Regions from separate parts of the Homo sapiens genome. Here region 1 is linked to region 2. Evidence: promoter capture Hi-C in 16 types of primary human blood cells and fetal thymus (Javierre and others, 2016). All regions are on one chromosome and are shown on one strand. The core of a region is centred on a gene start or on the middle of the fragment in contact, and the rest is flanking DNA. Distances in the headings are between cores, read along the strand shown.

Region 1 (6,886 bases), core at 4,278-6,777, 220 kb after region 2:
CTTTGGCTTCAGCAGTCTCCCTGGGTGTCCCCACCCCATCCCGTTCCCTGTGTTCAAAGGCGCTTGGGGCCATCCTCCACTGTGAAACTCCCAGACACGCCAGCCCAGCTGCTTCAGGTGTGCGCTGGGAAATTTTCACTCCCTGAATTCCAAAAATGATGGCAGCCTCTGCCTCACCCTCATAAACGCAACGTTTACATTTATTGTCCAGTTGTTTCAGGACGTGGATTTTCTTTGTTTTGCTTTTTTTTTTTTTTTTTTTGAGACAAGAGTTTCACTTTTGTCCCCCAGGCTCGAGTGCAGTGGCGCGATCTTGGCTCACCACAACCTCCACCTCCCAGGTTCAAGCGATTCTCCTGCCTCAGCCTCCTGAGTAGCTGGAACTACAGGCGCTGCCACCACACCTAGCTAATTTTTGTATTTTTAGTAAAGATGGGGTTTCACCATGTTGGCCAGCCTGGTTTGGAACTCCTGGCCTCAGGTGATCCGCCCGCCTTGGCCTCCCAAAGTGCTGGGATTACAGGTGTGAGCCACCGCGCCCAGCCCTTTTTTCTGTCTGAGAACAAGAAGACAGTAAGCTCTGGGGAAAAAACAGGACCCACCTTCATCTTTCTTATCTTTGCTGTGCACTTCTTACAAATATTTGCTGAGGCTGTGAATTATAATTGCAAAAGTAGAATCCACTGTGTCCAAGCAGAAGAGAGGGTGTCATGGGGAGCGGGCAGTGGGGAGTCACCTGTCTGCCAGGCTGGACGGGTGAACACATTCATCATCTTTAGGCATGCGAGCTTCTCCTACCTCTATCCATCCTTCCTTCAGCCCATTTCCCCCGACTTCTGCCACCACCTCCGGGACGTCCTGAAGGCGAACCGGCCTCCCACCTGCTAAGTCCAACAGACACTTCAGCCTGGCTCTCACCAGCCATGGCGGGTTGCCCTCCTACCTCTTGACAACACGCTCTTCCTCGGCTGCAGAGACACCTCCTCTCCGTATTTTCCTCCCACATTAGCAATGACCACACTCAGGCTATGTCACTCATGGTATTTTTGCATCAGAAATGCCATCCTTGGGCCGGGCGCCATGCCTCATGCCTGTAATCCCAGCGCTTTGAGAGGCCGAGCCGGGTGGATCCCTTGAGGCCAGGAGTTCAAAAACGGCCTGGGCAACATAGCAAGACCCTGTCTCTACAAAAAGAAACAGTTTTTAAGTCATTCCTGATTTTACAACGCTACTCTGATCTGAGCCCCTGTGGCCTCGGGATCCCCAGGCGTCTGTTCCCGAGAACGCGGGGCAGAAAGCCTAGTCCTGCACGCAGTACCAACAATGCGGAGTCAGCGGGTTGTTTCGACTTTGTTCTGTTTCCTGAGGGGTTCTGAATAAGGGCCACCCCCTTCCTCCTCTGTGCCGCCATGTTCCCTCCCGGCCACGCCCCCTTGCAACCCCTCCAATCTCCGCCCTGCACCCTGGCAGCTCCCCCTGGCGGCAGCAGCGGGTCTTCGTGGAGTCAGCCCCTCCGCTGCTTGGCCGCTGGGTTTGTCCCTTATTTTAATGGATGCGCGTTGGCTAGGACTGCAACATTGTTTCTTTCTTCCACAAATTTTAGTTTGAAACAGACAGGAAGTTAATTTCCCGTCTGGCTGCCACACCTGCTGGTGGCGTGGACTGCGGCCCTTAGGCTGTTCCTTGCTCGATTTAACCCTGGGAGACATCGAAGCCTTCCCACCCAAGCTGTAGGGAGCTGTTGAAGACCTGGTTCACACGAGATCCTTTGCGGGGTGCAGCTGGGGAAAGCATGATTTCAGCTTGTAAGCTGCATGGAGAATGCAAATGTATGTGTGTGTGTATATATATATGTGTATATATATATATATATATATATATATATATATATATATACTTTTTTTTCTTTTCTTTTTTTTTCTTTTTTTTTTTTTGGAGACAGAGTGTCCCTCTGTTGCCAGGCTGGAGTGCAGTGGCACGATCTCGGCTCACTGCAACCTCCTCCTCCCAGGTTCAAGCGATTCTCCTGCCTCAGCCTCCCAAGTAGCTGGGACTAGAGGTGCACGCCACCATGCCCGGCTAATTTTTGTATTTTTAGTAGAGACAGACTTTCACCACATTGGCCAGGCTGGTCTCGAACTCCTGACGATGTGATCCATCCGCCTCAGCCTCCCAAAGTGCTGGGATTACAAGCGTGAGCCACTGTGCCCGGCCAATGTATATATTTTTTCAAGACAGCTCAACCCAAAGTAGCACCAGCATGGACAGGCCGAGTGACGAAGACAGTGCTGGAGGCACACAGAGGCTGTGGGGGCAAGTATGCGGCCGGCTGGACCTGCGGGGACCCTGCCCGTGGCTGGAAAGGGGACCAGGGGGTCCCTGGGAAACACAGGGCTCTGACCTCTGTGCAGGGTGAGGAAGGGTTTTACCAGCAGAGGGAGAGCTCAGCCCAGGCCCGAAGTCAGCACGACGAGCAGCTGACCCCTGGGATCTTTGAGGAACCTGAAAGTGCTTGATGGTCTTTGTGAATCTGAAATCCGAGCGAAGCGTCAGACCCTCGAGTTTCCCCAGGGGAACTCCGTTAGTCTCCTGGGATTTGATGTATTCACGCTTTGTTCCTTCTGGACCAGTCACGCCCCACGCCAATCTGAGCCGTCGGGGGTTGGCCCTTCCAGGATGCTGTGATTAGGTCTAGGGAATTCCACCTGGAGGGAAGGGTGGGCTGTGTCCTAGGGAATTCCACCTGGAGGGAAGGGTGGGCTGCGTCCTCGGGAGGGAGACAGCAGGTGGCAGGCTTCGGCCTCCCAGGCAGCCCTATTGAAAAGTGAAGCCACCTGGACTTCCTGGGTCAAGTGGGGACTGGGACAACTTTTCTATCTAGCAAGAGGATTGTAAAATGCACCAATCAGCGCTCTGTAAAATGCACCAATCAGCACTCTGTAAAATGCACCAATCAGCACTCTGTAAAATGCACCAATCAGTGCTCTGTAAAATGCACCAATCAGCACTCTGTAAAAATGCACCAATCAGCGCTCTGTAAAATGCACCAATCAGCACTCTGTAAAATGCACCAATCAGTGCTCTGTAAAATGCACCAATCAGTGCTCTGTAAAATGCACCAATCAGTGCTCTGTAAAATGCACCAATCAGCAGGATTCTAAAAGTAGTCAATCGCAGAGAGGATTGAAAAAAGGGCACTCTGATAGGACAGAAATGGAACATGGGCGGGGCCAATAAGGGAATAAAAGCTGGCTGCCACCAACCACCCCCGCCCCCCCCCCCCACCTCTAGCCAGCAGTGGCAACGTGTTCGGGTCCTCGTCTATGCTGTGAAAGCTTTATCCTTTCTCTCTTCACAATAAACCTTGCTACTGTTCACTTTTTGGGTCCGTGCCATCTTTAAGAGCTGTTAACACTCACCGCGAAGGTCCCTAGCTCCATTATCGAAGTCAGGGAGACAACGAACCCACCAGCAGGAACCACCTCCGGACACACTATGTCCCTGCATCCCCGAAGCTCCCGCTACTCCCTGGAATATTCTTTGAAAAGGGTCCCTGTGTCCTTTTTTGCCAGCAACAGAAACTCTAAAAACAGCCACCATTATAGCAATCAATTACCAAACTCTTCTGCTGAGGCCAGGCAGAAAGCAAAGCACAACGGACCTTACCAGGAGGCCCCGCCGCTCCTGTCCAGCCCCTGCCCACTCACTCAGGTGCTCATCACCCCCAGGAGGCTCCACTGCTCCTGTCCAGCCTCTACCCACTCTCTCAGGTGTCCATCACTTCCAGGAGGCTTTGCGCTCCTGTCCAGCCCCTGCCCACTCACTCAGGTGCTCATCACCCCCAGGAGGGCCCCCCTCCCTGCCCAGCTTCCCCCTACTCACTCAGGTGCTCATCACCCCCAGGAGGCCCCACTGCTCCTGTCCAGCCTCTACCCACTCTCTCAGGTGTCCATCACCTCCAGGAGGCTTTGCGCTCCTGTCCAGCCCCTCCCCACTCACTCAGGTGCTCATCACCCCCCGGAGGGTTCCCCCCCTCTGTCCAGGCCATCCCCGCTCTCTCAGGTGGTTGTTGCCCCCGGGGAGGGGCCCTGCTCCTCATCCAGCCCCTCCCACTCACTCAGGTGGTCATCTAGGGGCGAGGTAGACAAAGCCCAGGTACCGACGGCCTTTCCGTCCTCTCTGGTCCCTCTTGGCTGGAGTTCAGGCAGCTAGGTGGCTGGATTCTGTGTTAGGGTGTAGGACAGTGCTAGCCCGGGGTGGCGGGTGCCAGGTCCCTGACATTCCGGGTCTGAGCAGCTGGCAGGAGACTGGGGCAGGAGCCAGCAGTAGCTGCCCTCACCCACAGCACCAGGCTGGCCTGCGTGGGAATCAGAACCCACTGCCTGGTGCTCACAGAGAAGGAGTTTACTCTTCCCCCACCCCCAAAACTGAATGGATTTAATTAGCAGTTTGGGGTTCTCCCCTGTCACGGCTTTGGTCTAAGCTGATGAGGAAACCACAGACTCTCCCACTTTTGTACCCTTTCTTTGATGGGCAAGCGGACGCAGGCGCTGGAAGCCACGTGGCCTGAACCCGGCTCCTCTTGGGGCCTCCCGTGCAGGCCAAACTCCTTTTCTCTGATTGTTATATTATCCCAGAGAGGGCAGAATGGAGCTGGCCGAAAGCTTTTGAACATTGAGTCACGAGTGCAACGCAATGGAGGACTGCGGATATGAAATCTGACAGAGCTGCTGCCGCTGGCCATGCGGCGCCCAAGGGTGGGTGGGGTGTACTCTGTGGCTGTCCGTCATCAGCAGGAGACAGCTGCCCTCTGCCAGGTTGCCGGGGCCGAATTCTCCCTGGCTTCGGATGGCATGGTCCAGGTAGCTGGGGGTGGAAGATTCCGTCCCCTGGATCCACACAGTCACAGCACACTGTTGCCCACTGCATGGCAGCCTTGAGGCCGCCATCTCCTCTATCCTTGGCTCTCACACATGGGGCTCAATCCTGTCTCTTCTCTTTTTTTTGTTTTTTTGAGACGGAGTCTCACTCTTGTCGCCCAGGCTGGAGTGCAGTGGTGTCATCTCAGCTCACTGCAACCTCCGCCTCCCGGGTTCAAGTGATTATCCTGCCTCAGCTTCCCGAGTAGCTGGGATTACAGGCATCTGCCACCACACCCAGCTAATTTTTGTATTTTTAGTAGAGACGGGGTTTTGCCATGTTGGCCAGGCTGGTCTTGAACTCCTGACCTCGGGTGATCCACCCACCTTGGCCTCCCAAAGTGCTGGGATTGCAGGCGTGAGCCACCTCACCCGGTAAACCCCGTCTCTTCTCTAAGGACACATAGGCCCCAGTGTGCCTCCTGCTTCCCCTCCTCCTGCCACATCAGTAGCCATCCACTCTGCACGTCTCGGCGCCTCCCAGAAGCTTGCTCAGAGCACATTAGAAACGCCCGTGATGGAAATCCATTCCTGTTAGGTTTAAGCAGGAAAGAGGATGGCAGGTGCCAGGGTGGCTAAGTGGGCACATAAAGAACCCAGCGACACAGACTCGCAAACGTGACCAGACCCTAGAACCAGGGGAAGAGTGTGCCGTGAAGACAGGCACAAACAAGGCAAATGAGTAATTATGTGGCTGCAGCTTCCGCAGCAGAGCTCGATAAGCAGCGCTAAGCTTCCCCAGCCCCATCCATCCAGGGCCAGGAACCCGGGGGGGAGATGGGCCCGATGTGCCACATCCACACAAGCATTAAAATTGAGTCCCACAGGCACAGGACCCCATCCCTTCCCATTTTCCCTGACAGTCTCTTTCAGGGTAAAGGTATAGAACACAGTTAAGGTTTCTTACCTCCTTCCCCGCAATAATAATTGGCAGTTACTCAGCTCTCTGGGGTGTCGTAAGTAAGGGGCGCACGGGGAGACCAGGCTGCTATCATTAGGAAGTACTGATTTTAGCTGGACTGGACGCGTGTCAGCCAGGAGATGCAGTGAATAGAGTGAGGTGAGAGCACCCCCACTCCACACACCAATTTATTTTTTTTAATTTAAATTAATTTTTTTTTTTGAAACAGTCTTGCTCTGTCACCCAGGCTGAAGGGCAGTGGCACAATCTCGGCTCACTGTAACCTCCGCCTCCTGGGTTCAAGTGATTCTCCTGCCTCAGCCTCCTGAGTAGCTGGGATTACAGGCACATGTCACCACACCTGGCTAATTTTTGTATTTTTAGTAGAGACGGAGTCTCACCACGTTGGCCAGGCTGGTCTCGAACTCCTGACCTCAGGTGACCCACCTGCCTTGGCCTCCCAAAGTGCTGAGATTACAGGCGTGAGCGGCCGCGTCTGGGCCTTGTCCCTGTTTCAGCTAGTCCTCAATTAGGTCTAATGTCCAAGCCCCGCCTCTGGAGTCAAGTCCCCGCTCCCACCTCACTTCCAGGCCCCTGACAAAAGAGCCACGCCACCCGCCACCGCCCGTGGGCTGTGTGTGTTCTTACCGTGGGCCACTGTTCTTCCTACACAGAGGAGTGGACGGCCAGATGCGTGGCCTGAGGCTCTGGCCCGGAGATTTCTGTCCACAGTGTCTTTCAGGGCCACCTCTGAGTGGGCCTGTAACGTGGCAACAATCCACTTTCAGTGGGTGCTCAGTACTGAGCCAACCCACTTGCGAACCAAGGGCGGCTCTGTTCTTCCTCCGTCTGCTGGTCACCAAGTTCCCCTCCCATGACCGCAGGTGGGAACGGGCAGAAGGTACTGGCGTGGCAGTGGAGGGTGGTGTCCCCCCCGCACTCGGACCTGCTTGGGCCTGTCCCATGGACCCTTCCACTCGGAGCCCTGCGGCTGGGCTGCCTGGCCTGTGACTTGTTGGATCTGACGGGGTCCAGCTCAGAAGGGAAGCTCTTGCCACATAGTTGC
Region 2 (6,469 bases), core at 1,872-4,371:
ATCGAGAGACTGTCTTAAAAAAAAAAATTAGCTGGGCATGGTGGCATGGACCTGTAGTCCCAGCTACTCAGGAGGCTGAGGTGGGAGGATTGCTTGAGCCCTGGAGGCAGAGGCTGCAGTGAGTTGAGATTGTGCCACTGCACTCCAGCCTGGGTGACAGAGCGAGACCTTAAAATAAAAAAGAACAAAAGAGCTCAGACACCCCAGTCCTTCCGGGGCATCAGATGGCCTGAGACTCAAAGAGGACAATATGTGTGTTTTTCTTTTTTTTGAGACAGGGTCTCACTCTGGCCTAGGCTGGAGTGTGATCACGACTCACTGCAGCTTCCAACTCCTGGCCTCAAGCGATCCTCCGGCCTCGGCCTCCCAAAGCACTGGGATGACAGGCGTGAGCCACCGCGCCCGGTCCCTGTCCTCTGTTGCGATTTGGCAGGCAGCTCCAAGGATGTACGGAGGCACCCCTCCCTCCCCCAAACCCCCTCCCAGGATGGAGACCCCCACCCAGGTCTTGCAGGACAGTGGGTCCAGGCACGCCCCAACTCGCCCACCTGCCAGGCCTGTGATGAGAGGCTCTCTGGGTGGCCGCCGGGCGAGGCCCCCTGTTCAAGGTCAGGGGAACCCACTATTGGGACAGGTCATGGGGAGAGTTTGGAAGGAGCTTCTGTGGGGGCCGCAGAGACCCCAAGACTGCTTCCCTCACACGGCCAGTGGGTGGGGCCTGCTCAAGTCCACCCCAGCAGCCCCAGGCCTGGCGTTCAGAGGTGGTCTGGGACTGTCTGATGTCCTGCTGTCCAGGTCTGCACCAGCCGTGAGCCAGTGCACAGGACAGTGTTCTGAGGACAGCAGAACGTGCCGGCCACCCCAGCCCCCATCAACACTGGAGTGGCTCCTTGTCACCCAGCTGGGCCACAGCAGGTACAGGAGGCCCCAGAGCAGCTGGCATCAGCAAAGAAGCATAGAGCCCTCGAGGATGTGCCATGGGGTCATGGGGGGCTAGGCAGCCCCCTGCCTCCTGACACCGCCTGTTCCACCCTGTGGCCACAGCCCTGGGGAGCGGGGACAAGCAGAGCGGCCGGGTGTGGCTCATGTCCCCTAAGACAGCTCCCTTTGCAAGGCATCAGTCTCCCTGGCTGTGAAATGAGAGTGACCCCTCACAGCATCCCCCCTCCATGGCGCTACCCGACAGAGGAGACAAGTCACTGAGGTCATGGACAGATTCTGAAAAGGCAGAGGTGCGGCCCTCTACCCGGCAGCGTGGGGCATAGGGACGGCAGAGAACAGCTCTGGGGTGGGCCAGGCTGGAAGCTTAGCAGGTGGGCCGGGCACACCTGCACCCACTGGGAGGGGAGGACCACTGAAGGACCCAGCAGGCCAAGGAAGTCCCCTCTTCCTCCTGCCAGGCTGGGAGGCCCAGAGGGTGGCTGGAGAGGGGCCCTGAGTCCAGAGAAGCTGCTCCCAGGCTGTGTGGCCAGGGAGCAGAGGTTCAGAGGCAAGCCCAGCTCCCCTCCCCGTGGGCCACAGCAACCCCAGGCCAGGCCCTTTCCCACTGGCTTTCCTGGGGAGCGTTCCTGAACAGGAGGAAATAAAGGTCTGTGGGGAGAGAGTCTGGGGTGAGCCAGCCCAGGGGGCCACCCCCACCGCACCATTGCACGGGCCCTGTGGCCGTCCTGTCTCAGGAGACCATGGAAAGGCCGTGGGTCCTGCCTGTCTTTCCAGAAAAGCCTGTCGCTATCTCCCCTCTGGGACACCCCAGCTCCTGATGTGGCCTTTCCAGCCAAGCTGCAGCTGGACAGCAGCCACCACGACCTGGGGCTGGCAGAGACCCCTCCATCCCAGAGGGAATCAGGGACACCCCTTTTTCCGGGGTGTCCAGAGGCTGCATATTGAACCAGGGCCTTGGAGGCAAATGCAAGGTCTTCCCCCGCTCCCTCCCTGGGGGCCTCAGTCACCGCCGGTGAGTTTAGGTTTGTTCCGAGGGGCTTAGACTATTGGCCCCCAGATTCCTGGTGTGCCTGGGGTGGCGGGACTGCTCCGGCGGGGCCCTCTCTCCACAGCGCAGCCGGCCTGGGGCTGACAGCTCCCGAGCAGGGCAGGGCTGGTCTGGGCACTGGGCCCCGTTCACAGCCAATGACAGGACCAGTGGCCTGGAAGGGAGGGACTCCGCGCCTTTGGACTCCAGTGCCTTGAAATCCCACAGACCTGGGAACCGAGTCAGGGATGCCCGGCCGGGAGAACGAACGGGCGGGCGGCGGGTGGACCAGGACCTGCGTCCGGCCCCACCTCTCCCAGGCCTCACCTGTCCTGGCGCCCGCCCCGGAGCAGCCAGGTGCAGGGAGCCGGGGGCAGGGGCGCCGCTCACACCCAGGGACCCCCGGTGCGGGAAGGGCGTGAGGCATGACGTCACCGCGAGGTGGCCCCGGAGCCGGCGGACCCCACAGCCCAGCAGAGACCTCCGGCTGGCGGCCCGTTCCCTCCCTGCAGCCAGCCCCGATTTCCTCTTTCTGTGCGGAGCCCGAGCTTTCGCAACGCGGCGGGCGGTCCGCGGTGACCGTCAGACACGCAGCCCGGCGGGGGAGGGGAGGCGGCGGCAGGGGGGTTTCCGGGGGTCCTGGGGGGGGCCCCCCCGCTGCGCCCGGCCCGGGAAGACGTCCGGGTCCCCGCAGGTGCAGCCGGGCCCGGGCCCCATCCGAGCGCCGATCCGGCCCGGTGTTCAGCGCCGCCACCCCCGCGGCGTCCGCGCTCCCCCGCCCGGTCCCCGGGGCCCACCCAGGACCCGCCCGGCACCCCGCGCCCACCCCGGACCCACCCGGCCCCGCGCCCACCCGGCCCACACCTACCCGGGGCGCCGCAGTCCGCGCAGCGCGCGTTCCCCGGCCGCTGCAGCAGCTCCAGGACCGCCCTGCGCCGCTCCTTGGCCATGGCCGCGATGCGCCCGCGATGCCGATGCCGGGGCCGGGGCCGGGAGCGTCAGCCCGGCTCGCTAGGGCCCCGCGCAGGCCGCCCGCCGCCGCCGCCCCTGCGCCATCCCGGGCGGCCTCAGCCCGCGCGCCGGTTCCGCATTCCCGCCGCCCTCTGGGCTCCGCCGCCGCCGCTCGTGTCTCCGCCGCGGTCGCTGAGCGAGTGCCGGCGCGGGGCCCGGGGCGCACGCTGCGCTCTGGCCGGCAAGGCCCGCGGGCGGCCCCCAGCGGTGCAGGCGAGCGTGTGGCCTCCTCCCTCGGCCGCTCCGGCGCCCCCAGCCCGCGCGCCCCGGGGACCCGCTGGGAAATCGCCCGCCGCCCGCCCCCCATCCGCGCGCAGCGTCCCACCTGCCTGGGCGCGAGGCCGCCCCAAAACCTGGCCGGCCTGGGTGGGACCCTCGTGCCGCCGCGCGCGGTGGGACGGAGCCTGCACACCTACTGTGGGGGGCGCAGAGGGCACCTGCCGAGCCCCCCAAGACCATGGGCATGGGGGTGCTCGTGGAAGGCAGGTGTGCGTGTCCTGTGCTACGGACCAGGACCAGGGCGCTCACACCATCCCTGCCTGGGAGGGACGGCCAGCAGGTGACAAACGCCAGCGTCCCAGGGCACTGAGGCCACACAGGGCCCAGACGGAGCCTCCCCCTGAGACCCACCCAGCCGCCCACCACCCACAGATGGGACCCTCTGGGCACCCCTCCCACTCAGGCAGGCTGAGGGGCCCCGCCGGGACTTCACATGGGGGCTGACAGGTAACAAAAAACCTGGTTTTGATGTCACCTCTTCCCAGACTCGCGTGCCCTTCCTCTGCACACCCCAGCATCTTTTCAAATTCTTTCCATTTTCTTCTTGCAGGGTTAATGCAGTACACCCGGCTGAAAACAAACTGGAACATACCAGACTGAAAAAGGAAAGCCTCTCCCCACTGCCTTCCAGGCAACCACTGTTAACAAATTCCTCAGCACCTTCCAGAACGAACGTCTGAGGCCTGTAGCCTTTCATTTATTTATTCATTTATCGAGACAGGGTTTTGGCTAACGGCTGTAATCCCAGCACTTTGGGAGACCCTGGCGGGTGGATCACTTGAGCTCAGGAGTTTGAGACCAGCCTGGGCAACATGGTGAAACCCCGTCTCTACTAAATACAAAGAAATTAGCCAGGCGTGGTGGCGCATGCCTGCAATCCCAGCTACTTGGGAGGCTGAGGCAGGAGAATCGCATGAACCTGGCAGGCAGAGGTTGCAGCGAGCCGAGATTGCGCCATTGCACTCCAGCCTGGGCAACAAGAGTGAAACTCCGTTTCAAAAAAAAAAAAAAAAAAAAAAAACCAAACAAACAAACTCAAAAAAAGTTCAACTGAACCATGACTTGTTCACCCAGTCACTGGCATAGGGGCATTTAGAGCGTTTTGAATGCATCAGAATCATGGTCTACACAACCTCATCTTTGCAAGAGTTTTGTGTGGATTTGCTCTCAAAGTGGCATCGCTGGGGCAATGGTATGGGATGTGGAATGGCCTCCACTGAGGCTGCACTGACCAGAGTGCCACCAAAGGCACCTGTCCCCCTGCTCCAGCTGACGTGGAATCATGGAGCTGCTTAAGCTCTGTCTACCTGAAGCAGAACGCGGCAGCCCGTTTTGGTCTGTGTCTCTGGGATCTGTGCCCTGTGGCATCACGTGCTCTTTCCCTGTAACCGTTCACATGGGTCTTTCTCCTCCCTCAGACGGGAGGCTTTGGGGTGGGGACAGGTGGCATTTTCATCTCTGGGTCCCTGTGCCAGGCTCGGAATCCACCACACAGCATGAGCTTGGAGAATGTCGCCTAATAAAGACAGACGAACATTAATAGCAGCAGCTCAGCACTAGGTATTAGGAGAAATAGCCTGACTTGTATTTTCTATTTTCTTTTCTTTTCTTTTCTTTTTTTCCTTTTTTTTTTTTTTTTTTTGAGACAGGGTTTTGGTCTATCGCCCAGGCTGGAGTGCAGTGGCACGATCTTAGCTCACTGCAACCTCTGCTTCCTGGGGTCAGGTGATTCTCCTGCCTCAGCCTCCTGAGTAGCTGGGACCACAAATGGGTGCCACCATGCCCAGGTATATTTTTATTTTTTGGTAGAGACAGGGTTTCACCATGTTGCCCAGGCTGGTCTCGAACACCTGACTTCACGTGATCTGCCTGCCTTAGCCTCTGAAAGTGCTGGGATTACAGGCCTGAGCCACCACGCCTGGCTTGACGTGTATTTTCTTTTTTCTTTTTTTTTTTTTTGAGACAGAGTCTTGCTCTGTCACCCAGGCTGGAGTGCAGTGGTGCGATCTCGGCTCACTGCAAGCTCCGCCTCCCGGGTTCACACCATTCTCCTGCCTCAGCCTCCCCAGCAGCTGGGACACAGGTGCATGCCACCACGCCCGGCTAATTTTTTTGTATTTTTAGTAGAGACGGGGTTTCACCGTGTTAGCCAGGATGCTCTCGATCTCCTGACCTCGTGATCCGCCTGCCTAGGCCTCCCAAAGTGCTGGTATTATGGGCGTGAGCCACCGCGACCGGCCGACATGTATTTTCTTATTAAAGCCCCATTTTCAGCTGGGAAGACTGAGGCACGGGGAGGTTCGATCCCTTGCTGGAGGCCACACACCTCAGGACTGGAATATACATAAAACAATATAACAAAGCAACACACCCTAACATAGCCGTTACCCAAGGTCCCCAAAGACGGGGAGGCCATCATACAAGGCATAGAAAAGGCAGCAGGGAGGCCTCAGGGGAGCCGGTGCCCAACAGGCCAGAGCTTCTGGCACAAGCCAAGGCCATCTACTGCCTGCTGTTCCGGGGCCTCCTCCGTGGGGCAGCTCCAGCAGGCGAGTGTCTTGCCTTCTCTGTCCTTCCATCCCGCTAAGGGAACTGTGGCATTGCTCGGGGGGCAGGAGGGCGTGAGGATGAGACAGAGGTGGGTGAACCCCTCAGATCTAAGAGATGTCGGGGCTGAGGGGGATTCTTCCAAAGAGGAGGCTGCTCGGCCGAGATCCGCAAGTACCTGCCTGGACCCGAGAGCACAGCCGTCCTGAAATCCTGCTGCCCTGACTGGCTGTGGTCAGGGCTGGGCGGGGCAGTAGGGGAGCCCAGGACTCAGGAAGAATCCGGAAGGTAACAGCATAGCTCAGGGTGGGCCAGACCCAGACCAGTGCTGGTCAAAGGCTGTTCCGGCCAGCAGCGGCTGGCGAGGGGCCTGGACAGGCGGCGTGCCTGCTCCTGCTCATGCCCAGTGGCCTACAAGCTCTGCTGAGCCTCCTGCCCCTTGTCACTGACCCGCACGGCTGCACCAGGGACCCTGACACTCATTCCTCAAGCATCTCCCTAGTCCAGAGCCAGAGGCAGCCGCCTCCTGTGACCACTCGGCCACACAGCAGACCCTGGGCAGGGGGCTCCCGAGAGCAGGGCGAGCTCCTCCAGCGTCGCCTGAGCACGGGGCCTGCGCGTGGTAGGCCAGCAGGCGACTTTGATTGGAAGCTGGCTCCTCCC

Evidence for each region. Contacts are between HindIII fragments. The CHiCAGO score rates a contact against its expected background, and 5 or more counts as called.
Region 1: a fragment that was not itself captured here is called in contact with the fragment with the promoter of ADAP1 in region 2 in 1 of 17 cell types (naive B cells); the score reaches 5.2 in naive B cells.

What each region holds. Positions count from the first base shown.
Region 1 is chr7:1,168,581-1,175,466 of GRCh38, forward strand. No RefSeq gene overlaps it. Among named protein-coding and RNA genes, the nearest start is that of ZFAND2A-DT, 12 kb to the left of the region's middle. RefSeq lists enhancers at 869-1,844, 1,406-1,795, 1,845-2,818. The HindIII fragment of the contact is 246 bases long and covers 5,405-5,650 here.
Region 2 is chr7:951,559-958,027 of GRCh38, forward strand. ADAP1 (ArfGAP with dual PH domains 1) reads right to left here and starts at 3,122. Exons shown (of 11, transcript NM_006869.4): 1 at 2,838-3,122. The coding sequence starts at 2,919. LOC124901569 (a long non-coding RNA gene) reads left to right here and starts at 3,296. Exons shown (of 2, transcript XR_007060178.1): 1 at 3,296-3,706; 2 at 3,810-3,932. RefSeq lists enhancers at 1,572-2,183, 3,406-4,015 and silencers at 2,309-2,518, 2,809-3,298, 3,318-3,473, 3,329-3,428. The HindIII fragment of the contact is 7,508 bases long and covers 1,304-6,469 here.